Regions from separate parts of the Homo sapiens genome. Here region 1 is linked to region 2. The links are contacts of gene promoters, found by promoter capture Hi-C in human tissues and cell types (Jung and others, 2019). All regions are on one chromosome and are shown on one strand. Each heading gives the region's core, a stretch centred on a gene start or on the middle of the fragment in contact. The rest is flanking DNA. Distances are from core to core; before and after follow the strand shown.

The links. Contacts are between HindIII fragments. The study calls those that stand out against the background at their distance.
Region 1: a fragment that was not itself captured here is called in contact with the fragment with the promoter of A2ML1 in region 2 in 4 of the 25 tissues and cell types used here (H1 embryonic stem cells, adrenal gland, aorta and 1 more).

Annotation. Positions count from the first base shown.
Region 1 is chr12:8,734,430-8,741,079 of GRCh38, forward strand. The region is part of intron 2 of RIMKLB (ribosomal modification protein rimK like family member B); the gene reads left to right. Among named protein-coding and RNA genes, the nearest start is that of RIMKLB, 40 kb to the left of the region's middle. The HindIII fragment of the contact is 5,464 bases long and covers 607-6,070 here.
Region 2 is chr12:8,820,287-8,826,348 of GRCh38, forward strand. A2ML1 (alpha-2-macroglobulin like 1) reads left to right here and starts at 2,335. Exons shown (of 36, transcript NM_144670.6): 1 at 2,335-2,427; 2 at 2,896-3,079; 3 at 3,434-3,596. The coding sequence starts at 2,366. The region is part of intron 1 of A2ML1-AS1 (A2ML1 antisense RNA 1); the gene reads right to left. The HindIII fragment of the contact is 7,738 bases long and covers 1-3,953 here.

The sequences.
Region 1 (6,650 bases), core at 2,089-4,588, 85 kb before region 2:
TTATGTTCTTATGAGCAGGAAGTTAGTGCCTACTACCCTCACCTTAATACCTTTATTATGTATGCATAAGAAGCTTTGTCTCATAGATGAAAAATATTTTATTAAATCATATAGTATTTAATGACATCTAAGGAATCAAGCTATATTTGGACTGAATGTGAGTTCATTTAGTGGTACTCATGGGTGTAAAAATCCTTGATTTTGTTTTTGTTGGTGGCCACTGGGTTTAGATGTTGTCATGTTTTACTTGCCCATAGTATTGTGTAGCTTCTCAAAGTTTATTTTAGTTGTTTCTTTTTATTAACTAATTCAACACAGGAAGTAGGAAGGGGTTAACTTGTATTCCAAATTATTTTATAAAAATAGATATATTTATTTATTTAAAATAAAAAGCATCTTCCAGATGGAGAAAGTAATAAATGCCAAGAGGCAAACTGAATTCTATCTTCGATGTTCCAGTTAGCCATTGGTTAAAACCTTTGGAGTTCTTTGTAGTCCTTTTATGAGACTTGATGTCAGCTAAGCAAATAATACATTAAGGATCAGAAATTTCACTTCAGGGGAAAATGAGGAGAATTGAGGTAGTTTTCTCGCTTCTGTCATCTTCTGGATTATATTTCTTAAATTTCATCTAATAGGCAATAAGAAAAACTGTCCTTATATGGGTACAGAAAGTTTGTAGGTCAAATCAAAAATTTTGTTTTCCTTGGTCAGAGAGCTGCAGAATATTTGGTAATGATGTCAGCTGTGGGGTATTGCTGCCTACTTATCAGGCAGCAATATTTATCAAGCAGGCTAAAATTTTTTTTTTTCTTTTTTACATGGATCCTTGCTTTGTTGCCCAGGCTGGAATGCATTGCCACAATCTTGGCCCATTGCATCCTCTACCTCCTGGGTTCAAGTGATTTTCCTGCCTCAGCTTCTAAAGTAGCTGGAACTACAGGCGCACACCACCATGCCCAGCTAATTTTTGTATTTTTAGTAGAGACGGGGCTTTGCCATGTTGGCCAGGCTGGTGTCGAACTCCTGACCTCAGGTGATCTGCCAGCCTCAGCCTCCCAAAGTTCTGGGAATATAGGCGTGAGCCACTGTGCTCAGCCTAAATTTTTTTTTTTTAATGTAAATACCAAGAGATTAAGCTTTAAAACAGAGGGGAAGTATTGCTAAGTAGATGAGATACATAATTAGCTTTGGGTCAAAAATTTTAAAACTTTATTCACTGAACTTTTGCCTGTTTTTGTTTAATGACATATTTATGGGAATGGTTATTGATTTTAGACTTTCTTCGTTTTTTTTTTTGTCTGTCTGTTTGTTTTTTAAGACGTAGTTTCGCTCTTATTGCTCAGGCTGGAGTGCAATGGCGGGATCCCGGCTCACTGCAACCCCTGCCTCCCAGGTTCAAGGAATTCTCCTGCCTCAGCCTCCTGAGTAGCTGGGATTACAGGCATGCACTGCCACGCCCCGCTAATTTTGTATTTTTAATAGAGACAGGGTTTCTTCATGTTAGTCAGGCTGGTCTCAAACTCCCGACCTCAGGTGATCTGCCTGCCTCAGCCTCCCAAAGTGCTGGGATTACAGGTGTGAGCCACTGCCCTGGCCTAATTTTAGACTTTTTATTGTCTGTATTAATCTCTTCAGTGCAGCAAGTTAACCAATTTTGTTACAACTGAAAGATTTCTTCCTCACATGGTAGTGTTTTCCAGTTTTGGAGTGGAAAACCATTGTTAGTTCTATTTTAGTTTTAAGGATGGGCCTAATTTTAGAAAGCTACAAGTTTGGTGTCTGCTTGAAAATTATTTTCTTTTTATAAGGTGCTATTTAGGGAGGCTGGGTAATTTCTTTCTCCAAGCAGTTAAAATGAAAAGTCTACTAGCTTTGTCTTTCTTTTAAGAACTTTTTATTTTGAAATAGTTGGAAATTTATAGAGATGTTGCAAAAATAATACAAATAGCTCGTATATACTGTTTATTCAGTTTTCACCCATTGTTAATATTTGGCCACATTTGCTTTGCCACTCCGTGTAGTTTGTTTGTTTGTTTTCTGAGCTATTTAGATCAAGGTGCCCCAAATTCTTAAGCATGTATTTCCTTTTTTTTTTTTTTTTTTTGACGGGTCTTGCTCTGTCTCCCAGGCTGGAGTGCAGTGGTGTGATCACAGCTCACTGCAACGTTGACCTCCCTGGGTAGGAGTATAGGTGTGTGTCATGACACCCAACTAATTTTTGTTTGTTTTTTGTGGAGATGAGGTATTTCATTATGTTATCCAGGCTGGTCTTGAACTCCTGGGCTCAAGCAATCCCAACTGCCTCAGCCTCCCAAAGTGCTGAGATTATAGATGTGAGCCACCTCACCCAGCCAGTTTCAGGAATTTTAATACTGCTATTAATTACTTTCTTTTTTGAGACGGAGTTTCGCTCTTCTTGCCCAGGCTGGAATGCAATGGCACGATCTCTGCTCACTGCAGCTTCTGCCTCCCGCGTTCAGGCAGTTCTCCTGCCTCAGCCTCTCAAGTAGCTGGGATTACAGGCATGTGCCACCACGCCCAGCTAATTTTTTGTATTTTTAGTAGAGACGGGGTTTCACCATGTTGGCCAGGCTGGTCTTGAACTCCTAACCTCAGGTGATCCTCCCGCCTTGGCCTCCCAAAGTGCTGGTATTACAGACGTGAGCCATCGTGCCCAGCCTTATTAATTACTATTAACTAATATATAGTTCATACTCAAAAATAGCTATATCATTTTAGCATTTTTTTCTCCTTTATCCAGGATTTCAAGATCACACATTGTATTTGTCATGTGTCTTTAGTTTCCTTTAATCATGACTTTTTTTTTTTTTTTGCCTGTGTCTTTTTTGACATTTTTGTAGAGTACAAGTGAGCTTTTCTGCAGAATGTCCCTCAGTTTGGATTTGTCTGATATATACTAAGGATTAGAGTTAGGTTATGCATTTTTGGTAAGAATATCACATAAGTGAAATGCTGTACTTCATAATTCTTTAGATCAGGAGGCATATACCCATTTTTCTCAACATTTGATTACTTGGTTAAGGTCTTCCAAGTTTCCTTACTATATAGATATAGTGTTTTTCTTTATTAATAATATGTGGGGAGATTGAGACTGTAAATATCCTATTTTTATATCAGACTTTGAATAGTTTTAGCCTCCATTGATGAATCTTGCCTCAATCAATTATGATGTTGTTACAAAATGGATTTTCCCCCCCTCATCTCTATTATTCATTCTGTATTTATTAGTTGGTATTGTACTGTAAGGAAGGATTTTCTCTCTCTCTCTTTTTTATTTTGGAGATGAGTTTCACTCTTGTTGCCCAGGCTGCAGTGCAATGGCGTGATCTTGGCTCACCATAAGCTCTGCCTCACAGCTTCAAGCGATTCTCTTCCCTCAGCCTTCCAAGTAGCTGGGATTACAGGCATGCGCCACCACGCCCGGCTAATTTTGTATTTTTAGTAGAGACGGAGTTTCTCCATGTTGGTCAGACTGGTCTCGAACTCATGACCTCAGGTGATCCGCCTGCCTCGGCCTCCCAAAGTGCTAGGATTACAGGTGTGAGCCACTGCGCCTGGCCCATGAATTTTCTCTATTATCTTCTGGATTTATGGTCTCATTCAAAAAATTATAATCCATTACTGTCACTATTCATTTTGCTTAAATTGTCAGGGTTAGGGACAGTGGGAGCCTCGACCTACCTGGCCTCAGGTGATCCCAAGCCGAGCCTCTTGAGTAGCTGGAACTACAGGCATGTACCACTGTGCCCAGCTAAGTTTTGTATTTTTTTGTAGAGACAGAGTTTTGCTATGTTGCCTAGCCTACCTTGGAACTCCTGAGGTTCAAGCAGTCTGCCTGCCTCAACTTCCTGGAGTTCTGGGATTACAGGGATGAACCACCACACCGTGCAATTAATGGTTTTTGAATATACATCCTAAGTGTTTCTGCTGGAGAACGCAAAGCTTAAAATAGCATTCTTCATAAAAAGTTGATGTAGTAATAACGAGCTGTTTCTTAGAACTCATTTTGAAAATGCAGTAACCAAGGCCTGAAGTAATGACCTATGTGAAGTCCATTAAAATGTCTTCTTTCCTGGACAGTATTTGTATGGTCATCCGTGATGTTTTCTTCTTGACTATTCATTATTTCATAAGACTTTTAAATCTTTTTGTCTGATTACACACACACAACACGATTGCAAAAATGTATTTAGTCTAAATAAGAAAAGGAGAGTAGAGAGAAAAGTTGTAGTTTTCTTATTGAGAATTACAGTGTTCATGGGGAATGGGTGGGAGGAGTGATACCCCCCGTCCCCCAGCCAAGCTAATTGGTGAGGGAAGCTCCAAGAAATTTCATTTATATAGATGGAAGATGTTACAAAAAGTGACTGGCATGTTACTTCTCAACTGGATAGTTTCTGAGTTAGTAGTTTTGTTGGAATAGTCCATTCCATCAGAACATTTAAGAGATCTTGGTAGTTTGTGTGTGGTAAGACAGACAAGGACAGTTCCTTCTCTGTGAATTAGAGATCTACCATACAGCTTTGTCACATTTGAGGTTAACACTTAGGATTCTAGTATTGCTGGTGAGCTAGAAAAATGCCTTTTCATTCCACCATTCTGAAAGTCTTGCTTCTAGAAAAGACTTTTTTAAATTGATGATCTTAGTTTGGGCTGCTATAACAAATTACCATAGACTGGATAGCTTAAACAACAGAAATTGTTTCTGTTGTTCTGAAGAACAGTGTTCTGGAGGCTGGTAAGTTCGATATCAAGGTACTGGCAGATTTGTTTCTGATGAGGGCCCACTTCCTGGTTTGCAGATGGCCGTCTTGCTGTGTCCTTACATGGAGAAGAGAGAGAGCACGTGCACAAGAAAGCATGTGTACAAGCTCTCATCTCTTCCTTTCTTTTTAAAAATTATTTTTCTTAGAGAGATGAGTTCTCACTATGTTGCCCAGGCTGGTGTTGAACTCCTGGACTCAAGTGATCATCCCACCTTGGCCTCCCAAAGTGCTGGGATTACAGGTGTGTACCACCATGCAGGGCCATCTCTTTTCTTTTTTTGAGACAGGGCCTGTCACCCACGCTGGTGCGCAATGATGCAATCACAGCTCAGCTTGAACCTCATAGGTGCAAGCTATCCTACTGCTTCAGCCTCCTGAGTAGCTGGGGCTATAGGCATATGCCATCATGCTGGACTGATTTTTAAAAATTTTTTTGTAGAGACGAGGTCACACCATGTTGCTCAGGATGATCTTGAACTCCTTGGGCTCAAGCGACCCTCCTGCCTCGGCCTTCCAAAGTGGAGTTAACAGGTGTGAGCCACCACACTTGGCTTCTTGTCTCTTCTTATAAAGGCACTAATCCCATTGATGAGAGCTCTACCTCCTTGTGTCATCACATTGAGGGTTAGGATTTCAACACTTAACATTTTGGGGGACACAAACATTGAAATGATGACTGATGTATTTATATTTTCTCTTTTTTTCCCAGACAGGGTCTCGCTCTGTCACCCAGGCTGGGGGTGTGGTGGCATAATCTCAGCTCACAGCAACCTCCGCCTCTTGGGTTCAAGCAGTTCTGCCTTAGCCTCCCCAGTAGCTGGGATTACAGACGCTCACCACTGCGTTTGGCTAATTTTTATATTTTTAGTAGAGGCAGGGTTTCACCATGTTGGCCAGGCTGGTCTCAGACTCCTCACCTCAAGTGGTCTGCCTGCCTCGTCCTCCCAAAGTGCTGGGATTATAAGTGTAAGCTACCACACCCAGCCATATTTGTATTTTCTAGTTTCTGAATTCTTTGATACGGTAAATAATAATACCAACATGGTGAATAACAACACATTCTATTTTGTGTCCCCTCTTTTAGAATACTTTTTTCCCCGATGGTCATTATAGACTTATTTTTTACAGTGTTTTTTATTTCAGTAGTTTTTGGAGAACAGGTGGTGTTTGGTTACATGGGTAAGTTCTTTAGTGGTGGTTTCTCAGATGGGTGCACCCATCATCCAAGCAGTGTACACTGTACCCAGTGTGTAGTCTTTTATCCCTCACCCCCTCCCACTCTTCTCCCTGAGTCCCCAAAGTCCATTATATCATTCTTATGCCTTTGCGTCCTCATAGCGTAGCTCTCACTCGTAAGTGAGAACATACGATGTTTGACTTTTCTTTCCTGAATTACTTCACTTAAAATAATGGTCTCCAACTCCAGGAAGATGCTTTATTCTTTATTAATATTTTAAAGAGCATATGTCTACTTTTGCTGTTTTCTCTACAATTGACATGCACTTAGAGAATTCTCATGGTTGTTTGACCTAACAGTGATAACTGAGCTACTCTTAAAAATAGGAGAACCCGACTGGATGTGTTAGCTCATGCCCATAATCCCAGCACTTTGAGAGGCTGAGGTGGGCAGATCACTTGAGGTCAGGAGTTCAAGACCAGCCTGGCCAACATGGTGAAACCCCATCCCCTCTAAAAAATACAAAAATTAGCCAGGCGGGGTGGCTCACGCCTGTAATCCCAGCATTTTGGGAGACTGAGGCGGGCAAATCATGAGGTCAGGAGTTCGAGACCAGCCTGGCCGATATGGTGAAACCCCAGCTCTACTAAAAATACAAAAATTAGCTGGGTGTGGTAGTGTGT
Region 2 (6,062 bases), core at 1,085-3,584:
TGGGAAGGAATTCAGTTCATGGTTTGACTCTGAAACAAAATTGATAACAGCCCTTTCCCAAAAAGACCCCCTTCTTGCCCGGGGTCCAGTCTGCCTTTGTAGGACTAACAGATTAGCTACAAGATTAGAAATTACAGTTTAGAGGCCGGGTGCAGTGGCTCGCGCCTGTAATCCCAGCACTTTGGGAGGCCAAGGCGGGCGGATCACGAGGTCAGGAGATCGAGACCATCCTGGCTGACACGGTGAAACCCCGTCTCTACTAAAAATACAAAAAATTAGCCGGGCGTGGTGGCGGGCGCCTGTAGTCCCAGCTACTCGGGAGGCTGAGGCAGGAGAATGGCGTGAACCCGGGAGGCGGAGCTTGCAGTGAGCCGAGATCGCGCCATTGCACTTCAGCCTGGGCGGTAGAGCCAGACTCTGTCTCAAAAAAAAAAAAAAAGAAATTACAGTTTAGAGGTCATGCAGCCTCTGGCTCCAAGAGTCTGAACCTCCCCAAATTGCTCCTGGGGATAACATCACTGCTGTAAAACCTAAGATCAGTAATTGAGTTATTTTGCAGGCCCTGCACTCCATGGGATCAGCTGACACCACACAGACCAGTCATCTGGCCCAACCAGTTCTGCCATCTCACCCAGGAACAGAAGACATTAAGAAAATCTAACTTCGACCCTCTATGATTCCATCTCCAACCTGAGCAATCAGCACTCCCCACTTCCCAAGCCCCTACCTGCCAAATTATCTTTAAAAACTCTGATCCACGAAGGCTCAAGGATTTAAGTAATAATAAAACTCCAGTCTCCCACACAGCCGGCTCTGCGTGAATTACTCTTTTGCCATTGCAGTTCCCCTGTCTTGATAAATCGGCTCTGTCTAGGCAGCAAGCAAGGTGAATCCATTGGGTGGTTACAAAACGGGGTCTCACTATGTTGCCCAGGCTGGTCTCAAACTCTTGGGCTCAAGCAATCCTCCAGCTTCTGACTCCCAAAAGCTGGGATTATAGGCATGAGCCACTGCACTTAGACTAATTTATATTTTAGGTGACTTCTAAGTATTACCATCATAAAGAACACTGTGGGCTGGGCACGGTGGCTCATACCTGTAATCCCAGCACTTTGGGAGGCTGAGGTGGTCCCTGGAGCTCAGGAGTTCGAGACTAGCCTGGGCAACATGGTGAAACCCTGTCTCTATTAAAAATACAAAACAATTAGCCAGGAGTGTTGGTGCCTACCTGTGGTCCCAGCTACTCAGGAGGTGGAGGTGGGAGGATCGCTTGAGCCCAGGAGGTCAAAGCTGCAGTGGGCTGAGATTGTGCCACTGCACTCCAGCCTGGGTGATAAAGTGAGACTCTACTTCAAAAAAATAAAAAATAAAGAAAAGAAAAAAAAGAAAGAACAGTGTGAAAAAACTCAGTGTTACACTTGTGCATACATGCATGCTGTCCTTTTTTTCCTCATTAAGAAACATTTCCAGAGTAGGAGTTGCTGAGTGAAAGAATATGCAAATCTCAAAGGCTTTGGTGTGTATTACAAAATTGCCATGAGAAAGTTATCCACATTCTATTTTCTCTAGGACTGTGTGTGTCCCTATTTCCATACAGTCACAACAATACTGAGTAGTATTAATTTTTTTTTTTTTTGAGACAGAGTCTCGTTGTGTCACCCACGCTGGAGTAAAGTGGCATGATCTCGGCTCACTGCAACCTCCACCTCCCGGGTTCAAGCGATTCTCCTGCCTCAGCCTCCCAAGTAGCTGGGACTATAGGCACCCACCACTATGCCCAGCTGATTTTTTTTTCTTTGTATTTTTAGTAGAGACAGGGTTTCACTATGTTGGCCAGGCTGGTCTTGAACTCCTGACCTGGTGATCTGCCCACCTCAACCCCCCAAAGTGCTGGGATTACAGGCGTGAGCCACTGTGACCGGCCAAGTTTACTGCTTTTCTATTGAAACTGTTCTCATACCCGTGTTCCCAACTACACCTTAATTGAATAATAAAAGAAAATAAGGACATTAAATGAGAACAGGAATTGGAATGAGACCAGAAAAAAAGGGAGGAGTTCAAAATATGTTCTGAGAGCTTTACCATTATGAATACTCAGCTCTGGTTTTCCCCCAAAACTGGCTGAACCAGTATGGATGTTCCAGGCAGAAACAACTTTAAAGAAGTGAATAGTGGCCCTACCCTGGTCCACCACCTAACCTGGTGGTTACAGAAGGAGGAACACAGTCCTCCTGTGTTCCAGGTGCCAGGAGGTGACTGACTATAGCATCAGTCATCACTGCACACCCTACCTGGAATTAGTATATAAAGCTACGCGGAGCGATCTCTGCCCCTGACCCTGGAAAAATCTGTCTCACCCACAAAGATGTGGGCTCAGCTCCTTCTAGGAATGTTGGCCCTATCACCAGCCATTGCAGAAGAACTTCCGTGAGTGCTTGGTGTCAGAATTGGTTTATTAGGGCAGCGGCTTCTTCGCCTAACTTTCTCAAACATTTATATGGAGATGGGGAGATCAACTTTGGTTTATCTTAATTTCCTCCTCCTTTTTTCTCTTCTTTGGTTCCACTGATCCTTTACCCAGAGAGGGAGGCTGACGCATGAAGAGGAAGCTTTAAAAAAGATAAATATTAAAATGTGCCCTGTTTTCTGAAATAGGCCTAATTTCCTCCTTGGTGCTCTAGGCATGTGTGCTCGGTGAGGGCCTCCTGATGGCGGAAGTTGAAGACTGTGCACTGAGTCGTTGCCCCTCTGCTTCTTGTAGAAAATGAGGTGCATAAGGAAGGCAGGGGCTTGGTCTGTCTAATTCACTGCTACTTGCTGAGCGCTTAGGAGAGTGCTGGATTTTTCGAGTGAATGAATCATTATTGCCCTGAAATCCTTCTGCTCCTTTAATAGAAACTACCTGGTGACATTACCAGCCCGGCTAAATTTCCCCTCCGTTCAGAAGGTTTGTTTGGACCTGAGCCCTGGGTACAGTGATGTTAAATTCACGGTTACTCTGGAGACCAAGGACAAGACCCAGAAGTTGCTAGAATACTCTGGACTGAAGAAGAGGCACTTACATTGTATCTCCTTTCTTGTAAGCACAGACTCAGCCCTCACTCGAATCCCTTACTTGCCTATTCTCCTCCCTAGGCTCACTATAATCTACTTTAAGTATAATTTCTGTTATCTTTTGCCACGGCCTCTAAACCTATTTTTTCTCAACTTAACCTCAATCCCCGGCTATAACTCACCCACGGTTTCCTCGACCTAGGATTTCTCCCTTTAGTTCCTGACCTTAATTCTTCCTCGTGGTAATTTGTTTTATGTCTCTATCCTTGCTACCCCCATCTAACTCAGCTCTTTCCTTTAACTCACTGTTGGGTTGAGACCAGTTGATTCTGTTCCCCCAATCCCTTACCCCTCCCCAGAAGTCCCCTTTCTTGGTCAGGTACCACCTCCTGCTGGTGGCACAGAAGAAGTGGCCACAATCCGGGTGTCGGGAGTTGGAAATAACATCAGCTTTGAGGAGAAGAAAAAGGTTCTAATTCAGAGGCAGGGGAACGGCACCTTTGTACAGACTGACAAACCTCTCTACACCCCAGGGCAGCAAGGTAAGAGTCACATATTTGGGGTTCGACTAAAACCTGGGGAAACCGCTGTGCACAGGGGTAAAGAGGGGATTTGTGGTTTGACAGTAGGCTTTGGAAAAAAAGGAGTGCAGAGGAGAGGAAAATCTGGGGGGATTAAGTAGTGCAAGTGTTGAATACATGCTGCGCTACACAAGCAAGAGAAGTAGGTGGGGGTTGCTACTGAGTTTGTGTATCTAAAACAAAAGTACACATTTCTTCTGGAATAGAATTTGGCAAGTATAACTGGGTTGCTGGGCCTTACAACAAACTGCTTGTAAATGGCTAAGAAAGCACTGAGGGCATTTGGCTTGAGCTACTGGGGTTTTTTTTTTTTTTTTTTTTTTTTTTTGTATTTGTTCATTCGTCCTTACAGGGGCACTTCATTCTGAGATTTCAAAGTCAGGCACCCTGAAAAGAAACTATGTTTGGGTTTTTTTTATTTTTTTATTTAAAATTTTTGTGGGTACATAGCTGGTGTATATATATTTATGGGGTAGATGAGATATTTTTATACACACACACAATGTGTAATCATTACATCAGGGTACATGTGTATCCATCACCTCAAGCATTTATCATTTCCTTGTATTACAAACAATCCAATTATACTCTCTTAGTAATTTTTAAATGTGCAATAAATTATTGTTGACTGTAGTCACTCTTTGTGCTAAAAACTACAAGATCCCTAGATCTTATTCATTCTAGCTAAATATATTTTTGTACCCATTAACCATTCCCACCCCACCCCTCATCCTGCCCACCATTACCCTTCCCAGCATCTGGTAACCATCATTCTGTTCTCTCTCTCTCTTTCAAAAAAATTTTTTTCCTTTTACCTTATTTTTTTCCACACACTTAAAAATTATTATTCTATTCTCTATCTCCACGACTTCAATTGTTTTAATTTTTAGCTCCCACAAATAAATGAGAACATGGAAAGTTTGTCTTTCTGTGTCTGGTTTATTTTACTTAACATAATGACCTCCTGTTCCATTCAGGCTGTTGCAAAGGATGGGGTCTCATTCTTTTTTATGGCTGAATAGTACTCCATTATGTATGTGTACCACATTTTTTAATCCATTTTTTATCATCTGTTCATAGACACTTAGGTTGCTTCCATATCTTGGCTATTGTGAATACTGATGCCATAAACATGGCAGCACAGATAGTCTTTGATATACTGATTTCCTTTCTTTTGTATATATACTTAGCAGTGGGCTTGCAGGATTATATGGAAGCTCTATTTTTAGTTTTTTTCAGAAACCTCCAAACTGTTCTCCATAGTGGTTGTACTAATTTACATTCCCACCAACAGTGTATGAGGGTTCTCTTTTCTCCACATCCTCACCAGCATTTATTATTGTTTGTCTTTTGGAAAAAAGCCATTTTAACTGGGGTGAGATAATATCTCATTGTAGTTTTGATTTACATTTCTCTGACAGTCAATGATTTGAGCACCTTTTTTATATACCTGTTTGCCATTTGTATGTCTTCTTTTGAGAAATGTCTATTCAGATCTTTTTGCCCGTTCTTTAATCTGATTACTAGATGTTTTCCTATACAGCTGTCTGAGCTCCTTATATATTCTGGTTATTAATCCCTTGTCAGATGGGTAGTTTGCAAATATTTTCTTTCATTCTGTGGGTTGTCTCTTTGTTGATTGTTTCCTTTGCTGTGCAGAAGCTTTTTAACTTGATGTGATCCTGTTTGTCCATTTTTGCTTTGGTTTCTTGTGCTCCTTGGGTATTACTCAAGAAATCTTTGCCCAGACCAATGTTCTGGAGAGTTTCCCCAAAGTTTTCTTATATATAATAGTTTCATAGATTGAGGTATTAGATTTAAATCTTTCATCCATTTTGACTTGATTTTTCTATATGGAGAGAGATGAGGGTCTAGTTTCATTCTTCTGCATATGGATATCCAATTTTCCCAGAACCATTTATTGAAGAGCCTGTGCTTTCTCCAGTGTATACACTTGTCACCTTTGTCAAAAATGAGTTCACCCTAGACATGTTTCTGGGTTCTCTATTCTGTTCCATTGGTCTATGTATTTGTTTTTATGACAGTACCATGCTGTTTTGGTTACTATAGCTTTGCAGTATAATTTGAAGTCATGTAATGTGATTCTTCCAGCTTTGTTCTTTTTGTTCAGAATAGATTTGGTTATTTTAGGTCTTTTATGGTTCCATAAAAATTTTATGATTTTTTTTACAAAAGTCCTAAGATTTAGGATGTAGAATTTCTGTGAAGAATGTCATTAGTATTCTGATAGGGATTGCAATGAACCTGTAGATTGCCTTAGGTAGTACGGAATTTTAACAATATCAATTCTTCCAATCCAGAAACATGAAATCTCTTTTCATGTTTTTGTGTGTCCTCTTCAATTTCTTTCATCAGTATTTTATAGTTTTTATTGTTGAGATCTTTCACTTCTTTGGTAAAGTTTAT